Linked DNA regions of Homo sapiens: regions 1, 2, 3 and 5 are each linked to region 4. Evidence: promoter capture Hi-C in 16 types of primary human blood cells and fetal thymus (Javierre and others, 2016). All regions are on one chromosome and are shown on one strand. Each heading gives the region's core, a stretch centred on a gene start or on the middle of the fragment in contact. The rest is flanking DNA. Distances are from core to core; before and after follow the strand shown.

Evidence for each region. Contacts are between HindIII fragments. The CHiCAGO score rates a contact against its expected background, and 5 or more counts as called.
Region 1: a fragment that was not itself captured here is called in contact with the fragment with the promoter of PACC1 in region 4 in 1 of 17 cell types (M0 macrophages); the score reaches 5.1 in M0 macrophages.
Region 2: a contact is called between a fragment that was not itself captured here and the fragment with the promoter of PACC1 in region 4, in 14 of 17 cell types (fetal thymus, total CD4 T cells, naive CD4 T cells and 11 more). The highest score is 9.7, in fetal thymus.
Region 3: a fragment that was not itself captured here is called in contact with the fragment with the promoter of PACC1 in region 4 in 9 of 17 cell types (fetal thymus, naive CD4 T cells, non-activated CD4 T cells and 6 more); the score reaches 7.2 in fetal thymus.
Region 5: a fragment that was not itself captured here is called in contact with the fragment with the promoter of PACC1 in region 4 in 17 of 17 cell types (megakaryocytes, fetal thymus, endothelial precursors and 14 more); the score reaches 12.2 in megakaryocytes.

The regions. Positions count from the first base shown.
Region 1 is chr1:212,752,809-212,757,152 of GRCh38, forward strand. All of the region lies in intron 4 of NSL1 (NSL1 component of MIS12 kinetochore complex), which reads right to left. Among named protein-coding and RNA genes, the nearest start is that of NSL1, 37 kb to the right of the region's middle. The HindIII fragment of the contact is 970 bases long and covers 2,023-2,992 here.
Region 2 is chr1:212,081,531-212,085,578 of GRCh38, forward strand. The region is part of intron 13 of DTL (denticleless E3 ubiquitin protein ligase adapter); the gene reads left to right. Among named protein-coding and RNA genes, the nearest start is that of MIR3122, 5.9 kb to the left of the region's middle. RefSeq lists an enhancer at 679-848 and a cis regulatory region at 764. The HindIII fragment of the contact is 1,278 bases long and covers 1,153-2,430 here.
Region 3 is chr1:212,012,740-212,016,749 of GRCh38, forward strand. All of the region lies in intron 4 of INTS7 (integrator complex subunit 7), which reads right to left. Among named protein-coding and RNA genes, the nearest start is that of INTS7, 21 kb to the right of the region's middle. The HindIII fragment of the contact is 3,257 bases long and covers 604-3,860 here.
Region 4 is chr1:212,413,106-212,416,961 of GRCh38, forward strand. It overlaps PACC1 (proton activated chloride channel 1), which reads right to left and starts at 1,781. Exons shown (of 8, transcript NM_018252.3): 1 at 1,617-1,781. The coding sequence starts at 1,652. RefSeq lists a silencer at 1,433-1,492. The HindIII fragment of the contact is 5,506 bases long and covers 1-2,066 here.
Region 5 is chr1:212,057,052-212,060,976 of GRCh38, forward strand. The region is part of intron 5 of DTL (denticleless E3 ubiquitin protein ligase adapter); the gene reads left to right. Among named protein-coding and RNA genes, the nearest start is that of MIR3122, 19 kb to the right of the region's middle. RefSeq lists a silencer at 882-1,082. The HindIII fragment of the contact is 3,947 bases long and covers 1-3,876 here.

The DNA.
Region 1 (4,344 bases), core at 1,258-3,757, 340 kb after region 4:
TAGTTTTGCTTTCAGGTCACTGTACTGACTAAACTAGGAAACATGAACTTCCAAAAGCCTGCCCAAATTCAGAAATTCAGCAAAAAAAAAAAAAAGCACTAAGTGAGTACTTCCTTTCTATTTCCAATGTATTTTATGAATATAAACAAGCAATCACGCACAGCATCAGATGTGTGGCTTCTACTGGTTTCTAAAGAGGTAATTAAGCCATTAGAACCAAGAATTAGAAAGCAGCATCCCTGGTGAAAATGAAACCAAAAACACAGCAGTGATTTGTGATTTTCTGAAAGATAACCCTTTGCTACAATTTATAGAGATGTGTTGAACCCATTTGCTCAGTAGATGAAATCCTCTGCAGCACACCTTCCCACCTACACCTCACCACCTCCTTCAGTACCATGTTGCACCTCTCTTAAGGCACACTTTCAAACTCCTGACCCTCGCTCGTTATTATCTGGCCTCAGCCAAGTTTTTGACATTGTCTTGCAATGCTTCTTCCCTCTATTACTCACTTCACTACAGCCTCTCTGGTCTTTTGTTCCATGAATACTCAAGCTCATTCTTGATTTAAGAACTTTATTCTAGCTCTTCCCTCTGCTTGACAGCTCTTTTTCTTGATCATCACCAGATAAATTCCTTCCTGTTACTACCTCAGAAAAGTGTTTCCCCATCACCTAAACACACCACCCTAAAGCACTGATGTCACTTATTTATTTTTATATTTATTACTTTTCTTCTCCCACTAAAATATAAACTCTATAGAGTAAGAACTTTGTGCTGCTCACTAATATTACATCTGCCACATTGAGAACAGTTCTGTCATACTGTAGCCATTCAATATATACAACTGAATGGACCAATGAGTAACAGTCACTCATGATGTATTTATTGGGCATGCTGCTATATGCTGGCTATATATAATGTAAATATAATATTAAAAAACTCATGGAGCTTTCAGTTTTGTGAGAGAGCATAAACAAGAAAATAAACACAAATACTTATAAGCTGTAACAAGTACTATTAAGGAAATAAACAGGTGTCATGATAAACAACTGGGGAGAGTATTTTAATGAGGGTGGTTAGGTAAGATCTCTCTGAGGAGGTAACATTTAAATGAGAAAAGAGAACTGGGAAGATGTCAAACTTGGGCAAGGGGGCATGCATGTGTGACAGTGAGGCACTTTCAAAGAACTGAAAGACTGGCAGCAAACAGGAAAGTGCCTGAAATAAATCTGGAGAGGTAGGTAGGGGCCAGATCACCTAAGGGAATGCTAAAAGTCTAGAGTTTAGGATTTTAAGCAGAGGACTGAAAACTGATTTGCATTTTTAAAAGTATCCTAAGACTTCCTAGTCAAGTTGATTTCAGTAGTGCATAAAACTCCCTTCCTATGTCCAAAAGCATCAGTGAATATAGAAAATTAAAATGACATATCCTAAAGCATATACAAAATAAAACATTTCAATGAACCAGAAAAAAAGGAGAAGAGAAAAAGCTGCAAGTCAGGCTAAAGCTGCAGGCCTACCGGTAAGCAGAAGTAGCCAGGAATTGGCCTCCTGCAAGATAAAAGGTGTTCGAAGTGCTCCAGAAGAACAGGAAACGAAGAGACAGCTTCACTGTTTGAAACCGAGGGCTGAGACAGAGTTTACCCACCCTGAAAAGGTGGCTGAAAAAAACTGCCACTAACCAGCCCGGCGCGGTGGCTCACACCTGTAATCCCAGCACTTAAGGAGGCTGAGATGGGTGGATCACGTGAGGTCAGGAGTTGGAGACTAGCCTGGCCAACATGGTGAAACCCCGCCTCTACTAAAAATACAAAAATTATCCGGGCGTGGTGGTGGGCACCTGTAATCCCAGCTACTCAGGAGGATGAGGCAGGAGAATCACTTGAACCCAGGAGGCAGAGGTTGCAGTGAGCAACCATTACATTCCAGCCTGGGCAACAAGAGTAAAATTCTGTCTCAAAAAAAAAAAAAAAACCAACTCAAAAGACAAAACTGCTCCTAACCGCTGCCAGGAAGCAAAGCTTACTTAAAGCTAAACCAGAAATGATGGGAAGCAGATAATGCCTCCAAGCCTGGGCCTGGACCAATCTCCAGTGTCACACTGGGACAGAGGCCCTCTGTTGCCAGTGTTAAGATATGGCTCCAGCCTGGGATTGTTTGGGGCCAGATGGAAGGCAACCAAACCTACTAGACAGAGGGAGTGAAAGCAGTGGTAGACAGATATGCACATGAAAAATTCTAGTCAAGAAGCACTTGCAAATCAAAAGTCTAAAATACATGAAGAAATTAAAACCATGAAAGACAGCCAGTATAACCAATGTCAGGGAGAGGAATTTACTGCAGATGAAATGAAAATAGAGCAATATAAAAATGACTTTAAAATGCTACACAGCTCCAATAGCTAAAGAAAATCATAAGACATTGCAAAAGAAAAATAGGTTATAAAATAAAAACATAAAATACAAAAATAGAAGAAATGAGAAAGAAGCAAAGTTGAAGGATTAGGTTAAAGATTTTCTAGAATATAGGAGTCCTCAGATAAAAGTATATATGGAGATGTTAATGGAAGATGGGAGAAAAGAGGAATCTAGCAAAACCAAATAATCTCTCACAAAAAACAAAAATACATATATAATATTATTTAAATAAAATTGTCTCTGTGTATATAAGCAAGAAAAAAATTACCAATAAAAACCATGGAGTTGAACTATGTTACATGTTGAGTGAAAAAAGAAAAACAATGACAGAATAAAATGCATTATGTAATATTTATATAAACAACTAAAAAAACCCCTGTGTCTACCTATGTGCATACAAATGCATTGATAAAGATCTAAAATTAGACACAGCAAACTGATAATAGTTGCCTATTTGAAGATGTGTGGGATGTGACAGATTGGGAGGCGAAGTTATGGTATATTTCATATAAATATGAATATGTATATATTTTCATATATATCTATATGTAATTATTAAAAATTTTACATTAAGCTTGCATTTATTAAAAGCACAAGAAATACAATTTAAAAGATAACCACAATTTAAAACAATAAGGTTAGAGCTACGGCAGTCGAATGGAGGATGTCTACCATAAACTTAAGCTAGGAAATTGCAGATAATTTGAACACATGAATAAATTTTCTGTAAATTATGCCCCCAAAATGTCCAGTGCATATTTATTCCTGTAACAATTATATAAGCACAGAAAAAAGGATAAATGAATTCATACCAGGTTAATGTTGGATATCTAAAGGGGTGACAGGAAGAGAGAGAAGAAACCAAAAACAAAAAGTAAAAATACAATGCTATCCTTGTTGGGTTTTTTTGAGACAGGTTCTCACTCTGTCACTCAGGCTGGAGTGTAGTGGCAGGACCATAGCTCACTGCAGCCTTGACCTCCTGGGTTCAAATGATCCTCCCTCTGCAGCTTCCCGAGTAGCTGGAACTACAGGCATGCACCACCATGCTTGGCTAATTTTTGTATTTTTTGTAGAGACGGGGTTTTGCCATGTTGCCCTAGCTGGTCTCAAACTCCTGTGCTCAAGCGATCAGCTTCCCAAAGTGCTGGGCTTACAGGTGTGAGCCACTGCATCCGGCCGACTTTGGTTTTTAAAAGGGACAATGTAATATGTAATTCAATCCTATTTATATAAAATTATGTATTGTTTGCAAAAATATAAATATTTATTGAGTGTACCATGTCAGAAAATAATCTTAAGAGTCAGGGGCTGGGCGCAGTGGCTCATGCCTGTAATCCCAGAACTTTGGGAGGCCGAGGTGGGAGGATCACCCGAGTTCAAGACTTTGAAACCAGCCTGGCCAATATGGTGAAACCTTGTCTCTATTAAATATGCAAAAGTTAGCCAGGTGTGATGGCGGGTGCCTGTAATCCCAGCTAGTCTAGAGGCTGAGGCAGGAGAATCACTTGAACCTGGGAGGTGGAGGTTGCAGTGAGCTGAGAGCGTGCCACTGCATTCCAGCCTGGGCGACAGAGCAAGGCTCCGTCTCAAAAAAAAGAAAAGAAAAGAAAAAAGAGGGAAAACTGGGCATCCCAAAGTTCTTGCTCACAGGGAGCTTACAATACTGTGGGGAGGGAAGAGGAAAATAAGGAGAAATTATATAATATCTGTAAGTGGCAGAGAAAAATAAAGCAGGTTAAAGGGATACAGTATGATCAAGGGAGTCATAAGAGAATCTGACACAGGTTGTAAGGTGTATCAGATGAAGTGACACTTTGAACAGAGAGCTGAATGAAGTGCAAGAGTCAGGCAGGTAGTTTCGGAGAGCAGTTTCAAATACAGGGAGTTGCGAGTATGAAAGTCGTAGGGCCAGTGTGTTCTT
Region 2 (4,048 bases), core at 542-3,041, 330 kb before region 4:
TGTGTTGAGGATAAATTGTAAGGGGGTCAGGGTAAAAGCAAAAAGCTACTTTTAAAAAGCCATTGAGATAATCCAGGAAGTGATGATGGTGACTTAGACCAGAGTAGTAGCAGAAGCTATGGTGAGAAGTCATCCAATTTTGGATATATTTACAAGACAGAGCCAACAGAATATGTTGAGGGATCAGATGTGGGGCTATATGGGAGAGTTATCAAGGATAACTTCAGAGATTTTGCTTAAGAAGCTGAAAAGATGGAGTGTCATTAACCTAGATAAATATCCCTGCAGGAAGAGCAAGTTTGGGAGGGAACAGCTGGAGTTCCATTTGGACATGTTGTTTGATATGATTATTAAACACCCAAATGGACATGTCAGGGAGGCATTTCGATGTTTAATTCTGCAGTTCAGGGTTGAAGTTGCAGATGTGAGGTTCATTATCACACAGGGTGAAGATAGCTATAGATAGAAAAAAATAGGCCTGGTGTCTTGGGGTACCCCGATGTTTAGAGGTTGAGGAGGTGACAAATACCATTAAAGCCTACTGAGCAGCCACAACCAGAGAAGTAAGAGAAAAACTGGGAGAGTGTTACATCCTGGAAGCCAAGTAAATAAGAGGAGAGAGGGATGAACTTGATTTGATGTTTCTGGTATACCAAATAAGGTGAGGCCTAAAAACTGACCAATGGATTAGGCAATCATAGGGGTTATTTGGTGACCTTAATGAGTGTTGTTTTGGTGGTATGATGGTGGCCTGATTGGTGTCATTCATGTATATGACTTGGGGACTACAAGTATAGACAGTTCTTTCAAGGAGTTTTGTTATAAAGGAAAGAAGAGAAGTGAAGTGGTAGCTGGAGAAAGAAGCAGGGTTGAAGTTTGCTGGGGTTTTTTTAAATAGGAATATAACATTTCACAGTGATTGGCAGGATCGTATAGAGAGGGGGAGATTGATGCAGGGGAATTTGCTGGAGCAATGTTAAGCATGAGGGGATACTATCTGATACACAGTAGGAGGGTAGGCCTTTGCCAGGAACATGGATAGTTGACCCATAGTAATTGGAGAAAAGGTGGAATATATAAGCATGGTGCAGGTAGGCTACTGAGAGATGGTGGGGAGAGAGGTGGAGAGATGAGATGGCCATAACTTACAGAAGCTTCCTTCTGTTCTGATGTTAAAACATGAATCAGGGTTATTAACTGCGAATGAGGATAAGGGAGAAAGGGAGTAGAGATTTTAGAAGAGATAAGAAAGTCTGAAATTGTCACTGAGAGAATAGAGGAATAAATGGACAGGAAAATATGATTGTTGGGCTTCAAGAGTCAACTTGAGGCTAGCAATAATTAATTGAAAGTGAGCACTCCACATGGTTGTGTGTTTGCTATGCAAGTACAAGTATACTATAGGTAGAGAGCTAGATTTAACCAGGGATGTGGTTTAGCAATGCAAGTGAAGAAGGAAGTTGACAGTGGATGCAAAGAGGATGATTATGACTATAAGATATAACCTTGGTAAGGAGGCATATTAGTCCATTTTCACACTGCTGATAAAGACATGTACAAGACTTGGCAATTTACAAAAGAAAGAGGTTTAATGACTTACAGTTCCACATGACTGGAAAGGCCTCACAATCATGGCAGAAGGCAAGGAGGAGCAAGTCACATTTTACATGGATGGCGGCAGGCAAAGAGAGAGATTGGGCAGAGAAACTCCCCCTTATAATATTGTCAGATCTCATGAGACTTATTTGCTGTCACGAGAACAGCATGGGAAAGACCTGCCCCCATTATTCAATTACCTCCCACCAGGTCCCTCCCACAACACATGGGAATTCAAGATGAGATTCAGGTGGGGACACAGCCAAACCATATCAGGAGGGAAGTAAGGACATAATGGGGCCAAGGGATAGTGTAAATGTGGTACTAGCAGTGGATTGAGGATAAAAGATTGTTGGAATTGAAATACTAAAGGGAGATGGGAAAATAAGTGGTGATGAGTGGGATGATTGAAATTAAGATAATGGAAGATTTCCAGGTATTGGTAATAATAAGGTAAAGAATAAGTGGCTTAGGAGAGTGAAAGGACAAGATTATAGAAGAAGGAGGTCAAAAAACTGAGAAACCAAGGTATTGGAAAGATCATGTACATAGATTTTTTAATCACCATAAATTGACAGATAATGTTGAAGAGAGTAACAATGAACCAAGAGCAAAAATCTTCAAGCAATGAGCCACCCACAGTGTGGATCCTCAGGGTATCATTAGATGTGCTGTATACTTGTACTTACATGGTAAACACACAACCTTGTGGAATGCTCACTTTCAATTAATTACTGCTAGCCTCAAGTTGACTCTTACTGGCCAACAATCATATTTCCCTGTCCATTTACTCTTATATTCTCTCAGTGACTGTTTCAAACTGTCTTATCTTTAAGCTTGAGTTTTAAGCTTAAAGATTCATTTTACTTCAGCCATCAAGGCCTAAGGTTAATGGGGAATTGAAGGTGAGAAAGGGAAAATATACAGGTTCATTTTTCTAAGGACTTATTTAGTTGCTTATAAGATGCAGAACTAGACTTCAGAGGAGTCTTTTGCTCTAAGTCTGGTTTCTGTAGTCTTTGATGGTGCTGCCTTATTTGTTTTTGCTCTTTGCTTTTTTTAATTTCTTTTTTTCTTTTCTTTTTTTTTTTTTGAGACAAAGTCTCACTCTTGTCGCTGAGCCTGGAGTGCAGTGGCATGATCTCAGCTCACTTATTCAAGCAATTCTCCTGCCTCAGCCTCCTGAGTAGCTGGAATTACAGGCGTGTGCCACCATGCCCAGCTAATTTTTGTATTTTTAGTAGAGATGGGGTTTCACCATGTTGGTCAGGCTGGTCTCGAACTCCTGACCTCAGGTGATCCACCCGCCTCAGCCTCCCAAAGTGCTGGGATTACAGGCGTGAGCCACCGTGCCCAGCCCTAAAAATTTTTTTTCATTAATTTAGTATTACAGTTTAATAAGTCAGCTAGTTCTACAACAGTGAATAAGATAAATAGCAGTCCACAGACCCTCTGCCTCATAGTTTCCCTTTCCCAGAGGCAACCTCTTTCAAATCCTTTTGCTGATTCTTTGATATGTATGTCTAGACCTCTAAATAGTTTTGTGCATTTCTATTTATTTTTTGCAATTTTCAGCTTTATTAACTTCTTTCCTTTGTAACATGAGGATTTAACTCCCTTTCCTGTGTCCCACCACTATCAAACCTTCATACTCCTCATCCTCCTAACACAGGGTCATGATTTTGGTTAAATCAAGATACAGCTCAGTTCCTTTTAGTATGCAGTTGTCCCTCAGGATCCATGGGGGATTGGATCCAGGAACCCCCAACAGATACCAAAGTCCACAGAAGCTCAGATTCATTATCTATGATGTAGTATTTGCCTATAACCTATGTACATTTTCCCATATACTTTTATCATCTCTAGATTACTTAAAATACCTGGTACAGTATAAATGGTATATTAATAGTTGTTGTACTATATCATTTAGGGAATAATGACAGGAAAGAAAAGTCTGCACATGTTTAGTACAGACACAACCATCTTTTTTCGTGTTTTTGTTTTAATATTTTCAATTTGTAGTCAACTGAATGCATGGCTGTGGAACCCAGTATACAGAACTCAAGATATAGAGAGTCAACTATATTTAGAGTTATGTAGTCATTAATACAATCTAATTCTAGAATATCTTCAACACCTAAAATGAGGGTTCCAATTTCTCTTATGTTCTTGTCAACATTTGTTATTGTCCATCTTTTTCATTATACCCATCCTAGCAGGTGTGAATTAGTGTCCCATTGTGGTTTTGATTTATATTTTCCTGATGGCCAGTGATGCTGAACATCTTTTCATGTGCTTATTGGCCATTTATATATTTTCCTTGGTGAAATGTCTATGCAGATCTTCTGCCCATATTCTAATTGGGTTATTTGTCTTTTTATTGTTGAGTTGTAAGCATTCTTTATATATTCTGGACATAAGTCCCTTATCATGTAATGATTTGCAATGATTT
Region 3 (4,010 bases), core at 982-3,481, 400 kb before region 4:
CTTACTTGGTCTTAATCATTTTCCAAAACCAGTAATTTTGCAGAGTGAAATAAAATTAGCTTCTAATAAGAACACAAGAGAAAAACTGAACTAAAAGTGATTCTCATATATAAAATTTAATCACTAAACTACAAATTTATCATCCAAATTTAGAAACTAAATTTAGAAACTAAATTTAGAAAACTATTTTTGGAAGCACTGGAAGTATATATTTAATCTGACAGACTATGAAGCACTGACACCTTGGCAGTGGTAATCAGATGGTAATTATTCCCTAGGCACAACTCCTAATCAATAAAAGTACAGTCATGTGCAGCATAACAACGTTTTGGTCAACAACACACTACATACTGACAGTGGCCTCAAGAGATTATAACAGAGCTGAAAAATTCATATTGGCCAGAGATGTCTTGATGTCTGACCCTGTGTAGGTCTAGGTTAATGTATGTGTCTCTGTGTCTTTTCTTTGAGGGGTCTCACTATGTTGCCTAGGCTGGTCTTGAACTCCTGAGCTCAAGTGATACCCCGGCCTCAGCCTCCCAAATAGCTGGAATTACAGGTGTGAGACACTGTGCCCAGCTATGTCTTAATTTTAACAAAAAAAGCTTATAGAATAAGGATATAAAGAAAGTATGTTTATACAGCTGTATGTTTGTATTTTAAGCTAAGTGTTATTACAAAAGAGTCAAAAAGTTAAAAGAAATTAAGACTTTACAAAGTTAAAAAGTTATAGCAAGGTAAGGTTAATTTATTGTTGAAGGAAGAAAAACTTCAAAAATAAATTTAGTGAAGCCTAAGTGTACAGTGTTTAGGAAGTCTACAGTAATATACAGTAATGTCCTAGGCTTTCACATTCATTTATCACTCACTCACTGATCACCCAGAGCAAATTCCAGTCCTGCAAGCTCCATTCATGGTAAGTGCCCTATACAGGAATACCATTTTTATCTTTTATGCCATATTTTTACTGAGCCTTTTCTATGTTTAGATATACATATACTTACCACTGTGTTCCAACTGCCTACAGTATTCAGTACAGAAACATGCTGTACAGGTTTACAGCCTGGGGCAACAGGCTATACCATATAACCTAGGTGTATAGTAGGTTATACCATCTAGATTTGTGTAAGTCCTCTACAATGTTTGCACAATGATGAAATTTCCTAACAATGCATTTCTCAGAATGTAACCTCATAGTTAAGAGACGTGTGACTGAAATTTTTAAAAGTCCTCTCAATACCAACGACTCTCTCAATGAGGGAAAAAAATGCTTATTTTCAAAGGCACAAATAGGAACTGTACTTATTCAGGTATTTCTGATCATCAATTACTGCTGCATCTATTAATTTTGATCTGTGAAATTAAAAATTATATGCTTTCTATTATCTACTTTTTCAGTAAGAATTCCTGGAACTCTGAAGGTTTGATAAGAATAGCTGAAGGGGCCGGGCACACTGGCTCACGCCTGTAATTCCAGCACTTTGGGAGGCCAAGGCAGGTGGATCACCTGAGGTCAGGAGTTCAAGACGAGCCTGGCCAACGTGCTGAAACCCCATCTTTACTAAAAATACAAAAATTAGCTGGGCATGGTGGCAGGCGCCTGTAATCCCAGCTACTTCGGAGGCTGAGGCAGAAGAATCACTTGAACCTGGGAGATGGAGGTTGCTGTGACCCGAGATTGCGCCACTGTACTCCAGCCTGGATGACAAGAGCAAAACTCCATCTCAAAAAAAAAAAAAAAAAAAAAAAAGCTGAAGAGGAGGGTATGCAAATACTATTTTTTAAATTTTAAAAAAATTTATCCTCTCCCTCCCCCTCCCCCTCCCCCTCTCCCCACGGTCTCCCTCTGATGCCGAGCGGAGGCTGGACTGTGCTGCCGCCATCTCGGCTCACTGCAACCTCCCTGCCTGATTCTCCTGCCTCAGCCTGCCAAGTGCCTGGGATTGCAGGTGCGCCGCCACGCCTGACTGGTTTTTGTATTTTTTGGTGGAGACGGGGTTTCGCCGTGTTGGCCGGGCTGGTCTCCAGCTCCTGACCGCGAGTGATCTGCCCGCCTGGGCCTCCCGAGGTGCCGGGATTGCAGACGGAGTCTCGCTCACTCAGTGCTCAATCTTGCCCAGGCTGGAGTGCAGTGGTGTGATCTCCGCTCGCTATAACCTCCACCTCCCAGCCGCCTGCCTTGGCCTCCCAAAGTGCAGCCTGTGCCCGGCCGCCACCCCGTCTGGGAAGTGAGGAGCGTCTCTAACCGGCCACCCCATCTGAGAAGTGAGGAGCCCTTCCGCCTGGCAGCCGCCCCATCTGGGAGGTGAGGAGCGCCTCCGCCCGGCAGCCGCCCCATCCGGGAGGTGGGGGGCGGCCCCCGCCCGGGCAGCCGCCCCGTCCGGGAGGGAGGTGGGGGGCAGCCCCTGCCCGGGAAGTGTGGGAAGTGAGGAGCCCCTCTGCCCAGCCGCCACCCCGTCTGGGAGGTGTACCCAACAGCTCATTGAGAACAGGCCATGACGACGATGGGGGTTTTGTCGAATAGAAAAGGGGGAAATGTGGGGAAAAGAAAGAAAGATCAGATTGTTACTGTGTCTGTGTAGAAAGAAGTAGACATAGGAGACTCCATTTTGTTCTGTACTAAGAAAAATTCTTCTGCCTTGGGATGCTGTTAATCTATAACCTTACCCCCAACCCCCTGCTCTCTGAAACATGTGCTATGTCCACTCAGGGTTAAATGGATTAAGGGCGGTGCAAGATGTGTTTTGTTAAACAGATGCTTGAAGGCAGCATACTCGTTAAGAGTCATCACCACTCCCTAATCTCAAGTACCCAGGGACACAAACACTGAGGAAGGCCGCAGGGTCCTCTGCCTAGGAAAACCACAGACCCTTGTTCACATGTTTATCTGCTGACCTTCCCTCCACTATTGTCCTATGACCCTGCCAAATCCCTCTCTCCGAGAAACACCCAAGAATGATCAATAAATACTAAAAAAAAAAAAAAAAAAAAAAAAAAAAAAAAAGTTAACTTTTCAGGATTCAAAAAATTTATTATTCACCTGGTTATAAAACTGGAACTTGCTCATGCCAAGATATAGAGATATAGAGAAATTTATAAAAAGAAAATAAAAATTATATACCATCTTACCAAGATTTTGATATATATCCTTCTAGTCTTTTTTTCTATTGCATAAATACAAATATTACGGCTTTTATTTTTTTTAAACAAATCTGTTACATTATATAAGCTATTGGGGTTTTTTAAAACAAACCTGTTATATTACATAACCTATTATGTAACCTGCTTCCAAATATGTTTCTAAAAACATTGGTTTTAAGTTGTTACCGTATTCTATTGTATGATCATAATTTATCTAAGCTCAATGGAAGAAATTTAGGTTGCTTCTCATTTCTTTTGTTGTTACAAGTAACACTACAACCAGCATCCATACAAATAATTATCAGTACATATTGCTGTTATCTTAGGATAAATTCTAGAAGTGAATTTCCTGGGTCAAAGGGATGTACTTGTTTAAGGCTTTTCATACATATTACCAAAATGCACCCCAGAAGGCAATGCTACTTTTCCTGTCAGTCAGGGAGATACTGTATTTTCTTTTACAGAAGAGAAGCCAATCAAACATAGTAATAAAACCATGGTCAACATTTAATCCTCCTGCCCAAAACAAAATACTGTTCTGTAAAACAACAGTGTAGGACATGACATTCTGAATAGGTTAAAATTGGTTTTAATTCAAGTTATTGTCTTTGCCAAACTGTGGACAGCTCTAATGCAAAACAAATTAACATTAGAAGACAGTAAGTAAGCAATTTAGTATTACAGATCTATATGTCTGGGAGAAGCTCCTCAGTCAACAAAGCTTCTGCTACCCAATGAAGCCTTCTCCAACTAATCTATGCTGATCCTGTCCTTCTGGAAACTCATTTCATTTACACAATTAATGCCAACATTTGTACTTACATTTTCCATTTTATGAATTTAAGTCTTGTTTCCCCAACATAAGGTAA
Region 4 (3,856 bases), core at 531-3,030:
ACTGTTTAGGGTACAGAATCTAGGGGTCATGGAATCCACAGCACTGGTTAAAATCCCTCAGACTCCTTTCAGACAAAGGAAACAGATGGAATAAAGGGGATGGGAGGAGAAATATAGAAATCTGTCCAAGGCCAGATTCCAGCCAAGATCCTACACTAAAAAATGGCAAGCCTTAGGCAAATCTCATCTGCCTTCAAGTTGGCTTCTCCCTCCACTGTAGGGCTAAGCCACCTGCTTTATATAGTCCACAAAGCCCTTCTGTGAATCAGTCTTTTACAAAGGGAGATATGTACAGCAGTAACTATTGACTAAGACAGAAGGCAGCAAGTTCATTATGAGAAGGACAGACAGAAATGCAGACGGGTCTGGAAAGCGGACCCCTATGGAACACATGGAACTTGAGGTAGCCCTTGACTTCTGGGGGCATTTTACCCAATGGAGCTTGGCGGAGCGTTGATGAAGGAATGGAGTGAGCACACGCACAGAGGCAGGAGCACATTTTAAAACTGAGTTTCCACTGTGCCAGACCCTAGGTGGGTTAGGAGGTGGCAAAGGTAATGGGAGACATGGCTGCTGTGCTGTTCAGAGCTTTGGGAGCCTGCTGAGAAGTCTGGACTGTTCTGGGCAGACGAAGGGCAGCGTCAGGTCTGAGAAAAAAGGAATGCTCCGAGGTGAAGGCAGGGCCTCAAGGCAAATCTGGAGAGTATAAGAGACTAAAGGGAGCGATGGTAACACAGTATCGCACTCAGAGGTTACAGCAAACACAGGGACACAAACTGGAGGAGGACCGACCTGGAACTGCCTGACTTTGGCCAATGAGGCGGCACGATGGAGGGGCACAGAAGAGGACGGTTGCCAAAGATGACCAAGGTTTGGGGGCCGAGAAGTGGAGGCGGAGGAGGAGAGCAGTTTCACTAATACAGCTGGAGAAGTGAGGAGGCAGGGCTTGCTTGAAGGAAGCGCTGGACGCACAGCCTGCAGCGCAGGACAGAGAAGAGACAAAGAACTGGAAAGTGATAAAGTCGTGGGAGGAGGTGAGACTGGAGGGAGAGACGAAGAGGAGCGAGAACTAGCAGAGTCCATGAAGGCACTTTTTCAAAGTTAGGTGGTCACCAAAAAACAGGTAATCAATCCTGTCACCAGCCGCGGGGACAGCGAGGCCTTGGGCTTGGAGGGGGAGGATGCCGACGATGCCGACCGCGCATCAGATCTCGCCGGGAGGAGGGCGCGGGCGCTCCACTTGTTGCAAAGAACGCCGGGTTCCTCTGGGCCATTGGGCTGCCGCTCCGGCGGGGAGCGCGGAAGGCTGGGCCTCAGGTAGCTTCAATCATTCACCTGCTGGTTACGGGTCGCGGCGCCGGGGACCCTACTCCGGACCTCGGCCATGCAACCCGCAGCATACGGAGAACGCTGGGCGCCCGCTCCGCTGCCCCGCTTCCTTCCTGCCCCTGGGCCGCTCCTCTGCACCCCGGGAGCCCTCCCCTGACGCACCCGTCGGTCCCTCGGAAGAGCCCTCTGCCGCGCAGCCCCGACACCCCCCGCCCCGCATCCGCCCAGGCCCCCGGGACCCTGCTCCTCCGCCTCAAACTTCCCTTCCGTCTCTCACAACCTCGTACCTCCTGGTAGGATGTGGAGCGCTCCTGCCGGATCATGGCACTGACCAGAGCTTCGGCACACCTGAGACCGCCCCAGCCCGCGGCGCACGGACGCAGCACTGCGGCCGCTGCACCTGGACCTACCGGCTCCGCGAGGCGAAACCGGTCCGGAGGGGCGTCCCAGAGACCAGGCGTGGCGATACTCGGCGCATGCGCCTGGCCGCTGCCGCCCAGGAGTCGCGAAAGTGTTGATGGGAAATGTAGTTCTGGGCGGGGGCGCCCCTCACACCAGCTCTCACCCCTGTGGCGGAGGCCTGCATGTGACCCTGGGCCAGCTAAGCTGGTCCTTAGACGCGTGCCTCTGCGTCTCTCACTTCCTCTCTTTGTTGGAGGGGGAGGGACGGAGAAGAGGAGTGGAAAGTGGAACAAAGTCAGATGAGTAGGAGCCCCTAATCTATAATTGCAAGAGGAAGCTTGGCCTGGCGGTTTAAAACGGTAATAAATGTCTGGAGAGCACTTTGTATGTTAGTTACAAAGCGCTCTCACTCACATTATGCCGTTGATTCTGCAAGGAACCCTGTAAGAAGGACATTTTTCTCCCTAATTTACAAATGAGGAAACTGAGGTACTTTGTTTCAGAAAGGATGCGGGTGGAGCGGTAATCAAATGAAGATTATTTCATCCAGGGGTAGACTGCGGAGCCCATGTTCTCTCCATTATTCCAGGGGCAGGAGTACCCCTAGGTTCTTGTCCTGGCTCTGACCCTCCCCTTTAGGTCTTGCAATGCTCTGAGCCCTCCTCTCCTCGCCTTAGAATGCAACTGCTAAACCCTGCCCTGCCTGACAAGGCCTATGAAAGCAGAAAGGAAGGATCGTGCAGAGAAAGCCTAAAGCCGCTGTTCAGCCACAGAAGAAGCCTCAAGCGCTAGATGTGGCGTCAAATCTGGTGTTGGCCCTGTGGCAGGGTGGACCTGAAGACCACATCTTCCTCTCCTCCCACTGCCTGAAACAGCTGTTGTGTGAGGGCCCTCGGCTCCTCAGTGGTGAAGCAGATAGAGGCTGCTTGTTGTGCCTTGGTGAATGCTGCTCTGTGTCCCTTGCAGCTGCAGCTTGGTAACCCCTCCACTCAGGCCACTGGGAGCCTCTTCTCTCCTCAGTGATAAGCAGAATAGTGCCAGCCACATCAAAGAACCCTGGACCTCCTGGAGCATTAGCAATGGGAGGTCCCCATCACCTCTCCTGACCACTCACCCCTATCCTAGGCCCTCTGCTCTTAAATCTGTTATATGGGACAATATATATAGTGCCTAACACATTGTAGGCACTCGACAAATGTTTGTTAAATTTATGAATGGAACACTGATTCCAGCCATTTCATTTAACAGTTGCTTACCAAAACAAATTAACAATAGCAGACCACTAATTAAATTCCTTACTGTGTTAATACAATGGTACTTGATAGAACAAGTTCACACCATCATAGAATATTAGAGCTGGAAGGAACCAGAGAATTCTATTCCAACCCTGTCATTCCTCTCTAGTCTTTGTTGGTGTGACCAAACTGGAAAATTATGGGCTCCCACATTTGAAGGAGATACTGGCTAATAAAATATAAAATATGGCTTAACAAATACAATGTGCTGGGCACTGGGATACAGAAATGGATAAGATACCCTTGGGTCCTGGCTTTCGTGGCTCTTTCATGCAACTGTGGAGAGACAGATCATAAACATGTAAATAATGTTCTGTCCTTGCAGCCCCCAAGTCCTCTCTCCCATTCCTTCATGAGCACACACCAGTCAGGCTTTACTCCCCTCCACTCCACTGGAACAGTGCTTGTCAAGGTCACAAGTGACCTCAGTGTTGTCACATCAGATGGCCATTTTCCCATCCTCCTCTTTCTTGATTTATCAGCCACAGTGGACTTGGCTGATCCTCCCTCCTCCTTGATACGCGTTCCTCCCTGGCTTCCAGGACACCACACACTCCCGGCTTGCTCCTACCTCACTTTGAAGCCATCCTCACAGGGTTAACACGAATTCTGCACAGAAATAGAGTTATAATTAAGCATTAATCAGGCTGTAATTTGACCCACTTCCTTGTAGCCAAAAGTCATGTAGCACTAGATACTGACCATTTGCATCTCCACTGCTCCTACAGGTAGGATTTCTGACATTGGAATCATAAGGCTTTTGCTTAAGAATTGTTTAAGGCCAGGCCCAGTGGCTCACGCCTGTAATCCCAACTCTTTAGGAGGCCGAG
Region 5 (3,925 bases), core at 653-3,152, 360 kb before region 4:
TAAAATGAAAGGGTTAGAAAGCCTATTTAACAAAATAATAGGTGAAAACTTCCCAAGTCTAGCAAGGGATTTATATATCCACATACAGGAGGCTCCAAGATCCCCACATGGATATAATTCAAAAAGGTTTTTTTTCCATGGCACATTGTAGTCAAACTCAAAAGTCAAAGACAAAGTGAAAATTCTAAAAGCAGAGAAAAAACATCTAGTCACCTATAAAAGAAACCCCATCAGACCTAACAGCAGATTTCTCAGCAGAAATCTTATAGTTCAGGAGAGAATGAGATGATATATTCAACATGCTTAAAGAAAAAAAAAAAAACCTGCCACCCAAGAATACTACACCCAGTAAAATTATCCTTCATAAATAAAAGAGAAATAAAGTCTTTCCCAAACAAGCAAAAGCTGAGGAAATTAATCACCAGTAGATGGGCCGTACAGAAAATACTAAAAGGAGTCTTATACCGGGAAGTGAAGAGCAATATTTACTGTCATGAAAACACAAGAAAATATAAAAACTACTGGTAAGCAAACACACAAACAAGAAAGAGGAAAGGCTGAAATGTTACCACTACCGAATACCATGAAACCATAATGATAAAAAGTACCAGAGAAAGGAAGGAACAAAGGATATACAGAACAACCAGAAGTCAATCAATAAAGTTAGGAATAAGCCTTCACATATCAATAACGTTGAATGTAAACATGTTAAACTTTCCATTTGAAAAGTACAGACTGGGCAAATAGACAAATGTGACCTAATTATATGCTGCCTACAAGAAACGCATCTCACCTGTGAAGACAAGTATAAACTGAAAATAAAGGAATGTAAAAAGATACTACATGCAAATGGAAACCAAAAGCAAGCAAGAATAGCTATACTTACATCAGATAAAACAGACTTTATGTCAAAAGCAGTAAGAAGAAACGAAGGTTATTCTATGATGATAAATCAGTTCAGCCAAAGGATATATCAATTGTAAACATGTATATACCTAACACTGGAGCACACAGATATATAAAGCCAATACTATTAGATCTAAAGGGAGAGACTCCAGTGCAATAACAGTTGAGGACTTCAGCCACCCCACTCAGCGTTAGACAGATATCTAGAAAGAAAATTGGATTTAAACTGCACATTAGACCAAATGGACCTAAGAGATATTTACAGAACATTTCATCCAACAGCTACAGAATACACATTCTTCTCATCAGCAAACAGAATATTCTCCAAGCTAGACCACATGTTAAGACACAAAACAAGTCTCAACACATTTTTAAAAGTTGAAATAATATCAGGAATCTTCTCAGACCACAATGGAATAAAACTAGAAATCAACAACAAAAGGAAGTTTGGAAACTACAAATACGTGGAAATTAGGCAGTATGATTATGAATGACTTGGGTAAAGGAAGAAATTAAGGAAATTTTTACAATTCTTGAAACAAATGAAAATTGAAACCCAACATACCAAAACCCATGGGATACAATAAAAGCAGTACTAAGAGGAAAGTTTATAGCAATACACACCTATACCAAAAAAGTAGAAAGACTTTAAAAGAATCTAACAATGTACCTCAAGGAACTAGAAAAGCAAGAACAAACCAAACCCCAAATTAATAGAGGGAAATAATAAATAGCAGAGCCTAACTAAATAGAGACTTAAAAAAACAAGAAAAAGGGTCAACAAAACAAAAGGTTGGTTTTTGGAAAAGATAAACAAAATCAATAAGGTACTTGCTAGACTAACCACGAAAAAAAAGAAAGATGGTCTTAAATAAAATCAGAAATGAAAAAGGAAACATTGCAACTGATAATACAGAAATACAAAAGATCATCAGAAACTATTGTGTACAACTATACACTAACTAGAAAACCTAGAGGAAATGGATAGATTACAGGACACATGCAACCTACCAAGACTGAATCAGAAAGAACTAGGAAACCTGATCAAATCAATAGTAACAAGATCAAAGCAATAATAAAAAGTCTTCCAACAAAGAAAAGTTCAGGACCAGATGGCTTCACTGCTGAATTCTACCAAACTTTTAAAGAACTAACACCAGTTCTCAAACTATTCCAAAAATTGAAAAGGATGGGAATTCTCCCTAACTCATTCTACAAGGCCAGCATTATTCTGATACCAAAACCAGACAAGCACAAGGACACACACAAAAAAACTACAGAACATACGGACATAGATGCAAAAATCCTCAACAGAATACTAGCAAACTGAATTCAACAGCACATTAAAAAAAAAAAATACACCATGATCAAGTGGGATTTATCCCAGGAATGCAAGAATAGCTCAATATAGACAAATCAATAAACATGATACATACGTCATCAACAGAATGAAGGACAAAAACCATATGATCATTTTAGTAGATAGAGAAAAATAATTCGATAAAATTCAGCATCTCCTCCGAATTAAAAAACTCAACCAACTAGGCATGGAAGGAACATATCTCAACATAAAAAGGCTGTATATGACAGACTCACAGTTAACACCACACTGAATCGAAAAAAGCTGGAAGCCTTTCCCTTGAGAACTGGAACAAGACAAGGACGCACGCTTTTCACCACTCCTATTCAACATGGTACTGGAAGTTCTACCCAGAGCAATCAGGCCAGAGAAAGAAGTAAAAAGTATCCAAACTGGAAAAGAAGTTGTATTTTCCTTGGCTGATGTTATGATCTTATATCTAGAAAAACTTAAAGACTCTACAAAAAAAAAAAAAAAAAAAAAAAACCTCAGATCTGATAAATTCATTAAAAGTTGCAGAATACAAAATCAACATACAAAAAAAATAGCATTTCTATACATCAATAATGAATTAGCTGAGAGAGAAATCAGGAAGGCAATCCCATTTACAATAGCTACAAAAAAATAAAACACTTAGGAATAAATTTAGCCAAAGAGGTGAAAGACCTCTATAAGGAAAAGTATGAAACCGATCAAAGAAATTGAAGAGGAGACAAATGGAAAGAGACCTCATGCTCATGGATGGGAAAAAATTATTATTTTTAAAATGGCCATACTACCCCAAGCAATCTACAGATTCAGTGCAATCCCCATCAAAATACCAACATCATTTTTCACAGAAGTAGAAAGAACAATCTTAAAATTTATGTGGAGCCAAAAAGAACCCAAATGCCAAAGCAATCCTAAGCAAAAAGAATATAGCTAATATAATAACTAAAACAGCATGGCATAAAAACAGACACAGAGACCAATGGAACAGAATAGAGAATTCAGAAATAAATCCATATATTTACAGCCAATTGATTTTCAATAAAGGTGCCAAGAACCTACAATAAACGGTGCTGGGAAAACTGGGTATCCACATGCAGAAGAATGAAACTGTACCTCTATCTCACTATATTAAAGAAAATCAAGATAGGCCAGACATGGGGCTCATGCCTGTAATCCTAGCACTTTGGGAGGCCAAGGCAGGTGGATTGCCTGAGCTCAGGAGTTCAAGACCAGCCTGGGCAACATGGCAAAACCCCACCTCTACTAAAATACAAAAAATTAGCTTGACGTGGTAGGCGCGCCTGTAGTCCCAGCTGCTTGGAAGGCTGAGGCATGAGAATCGCTTGAGCACAGGAGGCAGAAATTGCAATGAGCCAAGATAGCACCACTGCACTCCACCCTGGTTGACACAGTGAGACTCAGTCTCAAAAAAAAAAAAAAAAAATCAAGATGGAGTATAAAGACTTAAATGTAAGACCTGAAACAATAGAACTACTAGAAGAAAACATAGGGAAAACACTTCAGGATATTGGTTTAGGCAAAGATTTTATGGCTGGCCAAGAACTCAAAAGCACAGACAACAAGAACAAATAGATAAACTAGACTATACTAAACTAAAAAGCTTCTGCATGCCAAAACTTTTTGAATGGGAAGTATTTGCAAACTATT